Regions from separate parts of the Homo sapiens genome. Here region 2 is linked to region 1. The links are contacts of gene promoters, found by promoter capture Hi-C in blood cells and fetal thymus (Javierre and others, 2016). All regions are on one chromosome and are shown on one strand. The core of a region is centred on a gene start or on the middle of the fragment in contact, and the rest is flanking DNA. Distances in the headings are between cores, read along the strand shown. Region 1 holds the start of ENO1 (enolase 1). Region 2 has its middle 17 kb from the start of ERRFI1.

Region 1 (3,026 bases), core at 523-3,022:
TGCTGGCTCAGAATGTGGCGCTGCAGCCTCCAAGAATCTTGCAACGGCAGCAGTCCGGGATCATGTTCGGCCTCTGATTTCCTGCTAGATTTACTGGTTCTGGCCACAGCAGAGTATCTTTATCTCTCTAACCATTTTTATGTAAAATAAGATTGTTTGGAGCCCTTTCAGGGCCACGCCTTAGAATTGCTCTGAGAGTACCAAGTGCCTGATTTCTTAGAGTCCTTACCAGTAGGAGATGTTGGCTGTTGATTTAGCTGCTGAGTCATGGGGCTGGGGATAGTGGTTTTCAGTAGCCAAAAACGTTAGTGTGTTGCTGGTGAAATCACAAACTCTGCTTGCAAAATTTTACTCTTTTTTTTTTTCTTTTTGCTGAATTTAATCCTAAAGTTCTTGCTTCTTACTCACTGGAAAGCAAATACTATGGTCTCAATAGGCCTTAATTTTTAACCAACGCCATGGAAACCTGTCTGTAGCTAAGAGGATAAAAATGCTAGGGGTTAAGGAAGAAAAGCAGGTTTTGCAGCTGACCAGAAGAAATAATTAAATTCAAGTACATATTTGAACACCTCTTTACAAGGAAATGAGGAAAATCAGATGTTTTAGTTCTCTTACAGACCAGCAGTAATGTTGAAAAATATAAAAGTAGCCGTAACAGAAAACGAAGTGATCATCTCAGCCCTCCCTTGGAGTGGGGGGATATATTGCGGAGCTGAGTTTTAATGGCTATCAGTTCTTGATCAGAAAAGTGAAATCACTCCAACTCCTTCCGTATTCCACGGAATATGACCCGTCTTGAACTTTGAGAAATTCCCCGGGTCTGTGTGAAATTCCAGTTCCAAATAATTCACATGAATGGTTCACAAGAATCCAGGTAGGTTTGATCTAGTTCCCTAGATGGGAATGAGAGGGATGTAAAATTTGAGAGGCAACATGACATGGACTAGAGAGAGAATGAATTAACACTGGGGAAGCACGTGGGGGCGCGCCGGACACCTAGAAGGCACTCAAAAAGTATGAGGTAGAATTAAAGGAAAGTGAACCTTCCTTTGGCTGTCTCGGCCTGATTCTCACCGCAGCAAGGAGAAAGGGACAGGGTCACCTTGGCGGGTGCCAGGCGGAGCCCGGCCAGACGGGCGCGGCTGGAGGGCAGCGCGCAGGCGCAGGCGGCGCACGTGGCCCCGGACACGCAGCGCTGCGGCGGGGCCAGCGCCCCAACCCCGGAGTGGGGCCGAGGCGCGCAGCCTCTCAACGACTCGACGCCAACGGGGTCTCTCGGATCGCGGCGCGAGGCAGGAGGGGCGGGGCAGGAGGGCCGCGGCAGGCCCGGGCCGCCAAAGTTGTCAGCAAGGTCGAGGGCCGGACGTGGGGCCCCAGAGCGACGCTGAGTGCGTGCGGGACTCGGAGTACGTGACGGAGCCCCGAGCTCTCATGCCCGCCACGCCGCCCCGGGCCATCCCCCGGAGCCCCGGCTCCGCACACCCCAGTTCGGCTCACCGGTCCTATCTGGGGCCAGAGTTTCGCCCGCACCACTACAGGGCCGCTGGGGAGTCGGGGCCCCCCAGATCTGCCCGCCTCAAGTCCGCGGGACGTCACCCCCCTTTCCACGCTACTGCAGCCGTCGCAGTCCCACCCCTTTCCGGGAGGTGAGGGAATGAGTGACGGCTCTCCCGACGAATGGCGAGGCGGAGCTGAGGGGGCGTGCCCCGGAGGCGGGAAGTGGGTGGGGCTCGCCTTAGCTAGGCAGGAAGTCGGCGCGGGCGGCGCGGACAGTATCTGTGGGTACCCGGAGCACGGAGATCTCGCCGGCTTTACGTTCACCTCGGTGTCTGCAGCACCCTCCGCTTCCTCTCCTAGGCGACGAGACCCAGTGGCTAGGTAATGATTGGGGAAGGGCTGAGCAACGGGCAGGCGGCGCAGGGCTTTTCTGGGCTTGTGGGGCTCTTTTCCCTCCGAGGGAGGCGGCGCGCCCGCAGGCCCAGCGTGGCGGGGTCGGGGGCACGTGCAAGCCGCCTCCCTGGGTGGGAACTGGCGCCCCCGCTCACCCCGAGGCCCGGGGCGGGGGCGCAATGCCAGGCGCACGTGCTGGGCCCCCGATTTCTTTGGAGGGGAAAGTGCAGATCAACACGTGATTACCGACTGCGGGGCCGAGTCACTGTCAGGGAAGGTCGGGAGCTGCACACGCGAGCTGCTTAGCACAGCGGGAGTTGGGAGTGGAAGTTGCTTTTCCATCGTAGCCAAGTGTAAGGTTTTTGGGATAGACGCAGACTTAGCGGCGGTGGCCACTCAGGCCAGGCCCTTCCTAAAATGGAGGAGGGCGGCGATAGTGGAGATGGCCACGAGGCTGCGGCCCCCTCCCCCACCGGTAGCCCCCGCCTCTCGCCCGCGCTCGCGGCCCGCGCTTCTGCCTAGTAAGCGGTGACTCATTTAACTCCGAGAAGGCACCTCTTGAGGAACCTACAGCAGAGCCGTTAGATCATTGGCAAGTCCTCCAGGCGACCTCGCCCAAGTTGGGCAAGAGCGGCTCCCCGGCTGGCCACCAAAAATCGGGCCTGATCTGATTTGGTTTTTTTTTTTTTTTGAGTTTTGCTATTGTTGCCCAGGCTGGAGTGCAATTGCGCGATCTCGGATCTCGGTTCACCGCAACCTCGGCCTCCTGGGTTCAAGCGATTCTCCTACCTCAGCCTCCCGAGTAGCTGGGATTACAGGCATGCGCCACCACGCCCGGCTAATTTTGTTTTTTTTTTGTTGTTGTTGTTGTTTTAGTAGAGGCGGTGTTTCACCATGTTGGCCAGGCTGGTCTTGAGCTCCCGACCTCAGGTGATCCGCCCGCCTCGGCCTCCCAAAGTGCTGGGATTACAGGCGTGAGCCACCGCGCTAGGCCAAGAAGGATGTATTTTAAGAAAGCTTCCTGTTCAATGTTCCCCTGCTCTGTGCGCTTCTCTGGGCGGTAGGGTCCATTGCTTCACTTGCCTTTCAGGCCCACCCGGGCCCTGACTGCTCCATTCATTTACCGTGTCCCTAAT
Region 2 (3,052 bases), core at 131-2,630, 870 kb after region 1:
AGACAATGTGTGAGACCCTGAAGTAGGAAACAGCTGAGCAGCTTCCAGAAAGTGGCTGTCAGGAGGAGGAGGGGCCTGGAAAAGTGTAGTGGGTGCCACTGAAAGATCCTAAGCAGGAGAGGAAGGTGATGTGATTTAAGAGGACAGTGGCTGTTGTGTGGAGGACAGATCGGAGAGAAGCAAAAGGAAACGGGAAGACTTAATGGACAGAGGCTACTGTAGTCCTGAACTGAGACAAGACTGCCTTGGCCAGTGGAGATGGAGAAAAACAGTAAAAGATACCTGGGAGTAGTAGAAACAGTTAAGTTCCAGATCACGCAGGCCCGTGTGCGCGGCACCCTGGCCAAAGAGGGACAGCTCCCCAAGCGCAGGGACTCAGCTTCCTGTGCACTGTCATGACGCACTGCCTGACCCAGGGGTGCAGTAAGTCCCTGCTGACTGGATGTCTGAATGCAGCACTTGCAGAACTTTGTCTGCTTCTGAGACTTTTTGCCTCTCCCCTCCCCTCCACTACCTTTTCTTGGTCATATGGTCAAGAATATGTTTCATTAGTTCTGTTTGCTTTCCATCTTACCTTTGTATTTTTACTTGTGTTTGCAAGCATATACCTTTTCCCTGATTTTTCCTGGCTAAGCAAATGTGCCTAGCCGCCATGCCAATGCCACACTACCACCGGAACACATCCCCTAGCACCTTCTGCCTGTCAACTTATTCCTCAACCAGCACACAAAGCAAGTTAATTCTAAAGAGTTCTCGTGGCATAGGTCAAGCCCGGGACTTCTGACACTCTTCTCTGTTGCTAAGTAAGATGCCAATAGGAAATCAGCTGCGTGTTAGCTGCCACTTTATGCACTGTTGAGTTCTCAAAGATGGTTATGTCACACAACAAAGTACTGGCCTAAAACCCAGGTTCCTGTCTTGACTTCTCCCTTTTTTTTTTTAGACACAGAGTCTTCTTGCTCTTGTCACCCCAGGCTCCAGGCTAGAGTGCAGTAGCACCAATCTTGGCTCACCGCAACCTCCGTCTCCCGGGTTCAAGCGATTCTCCCTGCCTCAGCCTCTCAAGTAGCTGGGATTATAGGCAGGCGCCACCACGCCTGGCTAATTTTGCATTTTTTTAGTAGAGATAGGGTTTCTCCATGTTGGTCAGGCTGGTCTTGAACTCCCAATCTCAGGTGATCCGCCTGCCTCGGCCTCCCAAGGTGCTGGGATTACAGGTGTGAGCCACCACGCCTGGCTGACCTCCCACTTTCTATAGGAAGGATTCACTTCACTTCCCTGAGCTTTAAGTTCCTTGTCAGTATATGTGAGGCCATGCCAGAGCGCACTGTAGTGCTATGCACACCTAAGGGACTGGTTAGTAGATACCATTTCGTGGCAGCAAACAGAAGCCGAGGATAAGGGGGCTCTCTTACAAGTGAATTCAAAATTTGGGTTAATAGTAAATGTCAGTTTTTTGTTTTTTTGTTTTGAGGCAAAGTCTTCGTCACCCAGGCTGGAGTGCAGTGGCACCATCTGGGCTCACTGCAACCTCTGCCTCCAGGGTTCTAGCGATTCTCCTGCCTCAGCCTTCCGATCAACTGGGATTACAGGCACCTGCCACCACGCCCGGCTAATTTTTGTATTTTTAGTACAGACGGGGTTTCACCATGTTGGCCAGGCTGGTCTCGAACTCCTAACCTTAGGTGATCCACCCACCTCAGCCTCCCAGAGTGCTGGGATTATAGGCGTGGGCCACTGCGCCCAGCCAATTTTGTCAGTTCTTATGCTGCAACAGTCAAGTATGTGATGTGTATCCTCTTGTTTTTAATAAATTCCAAAAACACACTAATGGAAGTTTAATACTGTTTGTTGCTTATCCATCTCTAGGTCTCAAGAGATGTCTTAACTATGCTGTGAAAAGTAAGAACTCTCTTTAAGAGGATGTTTCTTGGCTGGGTGCGGTGGCTCACGCCTGTAATCCCAGCACTTTGGTAGGCCAGGGCGGGTGGATCACCTAAGGTCAGGAGTTCAAGACCAGCCTGACCAACATGGTGAAACCCCATCTCTACTAAATACAAAAAAATTAGCTGGGCGTGGTGGCTCATGCCTGTAATCCCAGCCACTTGGGAGGCTGAGGCAGGAGAATCACTAAAACCCGGGAGGCGGAGATTTGCAGTGAGCTGAGATTAAGCCACTGCACTCCAGCCTGGACAACAACAGTGAAACTCCGTCTCAAAAAAAAAGAGGATGCTTCTTCACTATTAGGGACCCTAAAAAATAAAATAAAAGGCCATAGAGTTTCATCTTCCAGAGCAATTCACAGTTGACTAGAGAAAAGCCATATTCATATATCTACTGGTTCAAGAATCAACATGTATTTTAAGCTAGTCTCTATTTTGGTTCTTAATTTCATCACATAATTAATAGTTTTAGGATATACTGGAGCTTTTCTCTTAAAAATAAGTAAAGCTCCTAGCACAGTTTTGTATTTCTTATATAGTTTTTTTTTAACTTTTCATCTTGATGTAATTATACACTCAAAAGAAGTTGCAAAATAGATCCCCTATGCCCATTACCCAGATTCCCCCAGTGATGACATAGAATTTATCAAAATCAGGAAACTGACATTGGCACAATACTCATGTAGGATTTTATCTGGAAGTAGTTACTATCAAAATGAACTTAGGTGCTACTTTTTCAAATTAATTTAGAAATTAATTTTGGCCTTCTGGCATTTTGTAAAAAGCTAATAAAACTCTAAAAATATGTTGTCAGGCTGGGCATGGTGGCTCACGCCTGTAATCCCAGCACTTTGGGAGGCCGAGGCGGGCGGATCACCTGAGGTTGGGAGCTTGAGACCAGCCTGGCCAATGTGGAGAAACCCCATCTCTACTAAAAATACAAAATTAGCTGGGTGTGGTGGCACGAGCCTATTAATCCCAGCTACTTGGGAGGCTGAGGCAGGAGAATCACTTAGCCTGGGAGGCGGAGGTTGCGGTGAGCTGAGATCGCACCATTGCACTCCAGCCTGGGCAACAAGAGCAAAACTCTGTCTCAAAAAATAAAAAAA

What was found. Contacts are between HindIII fragments. The CHiCAGO score rates a contact against its expected background, and 5 or more counts as called.
Region 2: a fragment that was not itself captured here is called in contact with the fragment with the promoter of ENO1 in region 1 in 1 of 17 cell types (total B cells); the score reaches 5.2 in total B cells.

Annotation. Positions count from the first base shown.
Region 1 is chr1:8,877,432-8,880,457 of GRCh38, reverse strand. It overlaps ENO1 (enolase 1), which reads left to right and starts at 1,772. Exons shown (of 12, transcript NM_001428.5): 1 at 1,772-1,878. ENO1-AS1 (ENO1 antisense RNA 1) reads right to left here and starts at 1,623. Exons shown (of 2, transcript NR_038351.1): 1 at 1,498-1,623; 2 at 573-893. RefSeq lists silencers at 1,049-1,298, 2,019-2,068, 2,279-2,398 and enhancers at 1,157-1,748, 1,749-2,342, 2,343-2,935. The HindIII fragment of the contact is 3,104 bases long and covers 1-2,909 here.
Region 2 is chr1:8,007,508-8,010,559 of GRCh38, reverse strand. No RefSeq gene overlaps it. Among named protein-coding and RNA genes, the nearest start is that of ERRFI1, 17 kb to the left of the region's middle. RefSeq lists a silencer at 637-931. The HindIII fragment of the contact is 5,423 bases long and covers 1-3,052 here.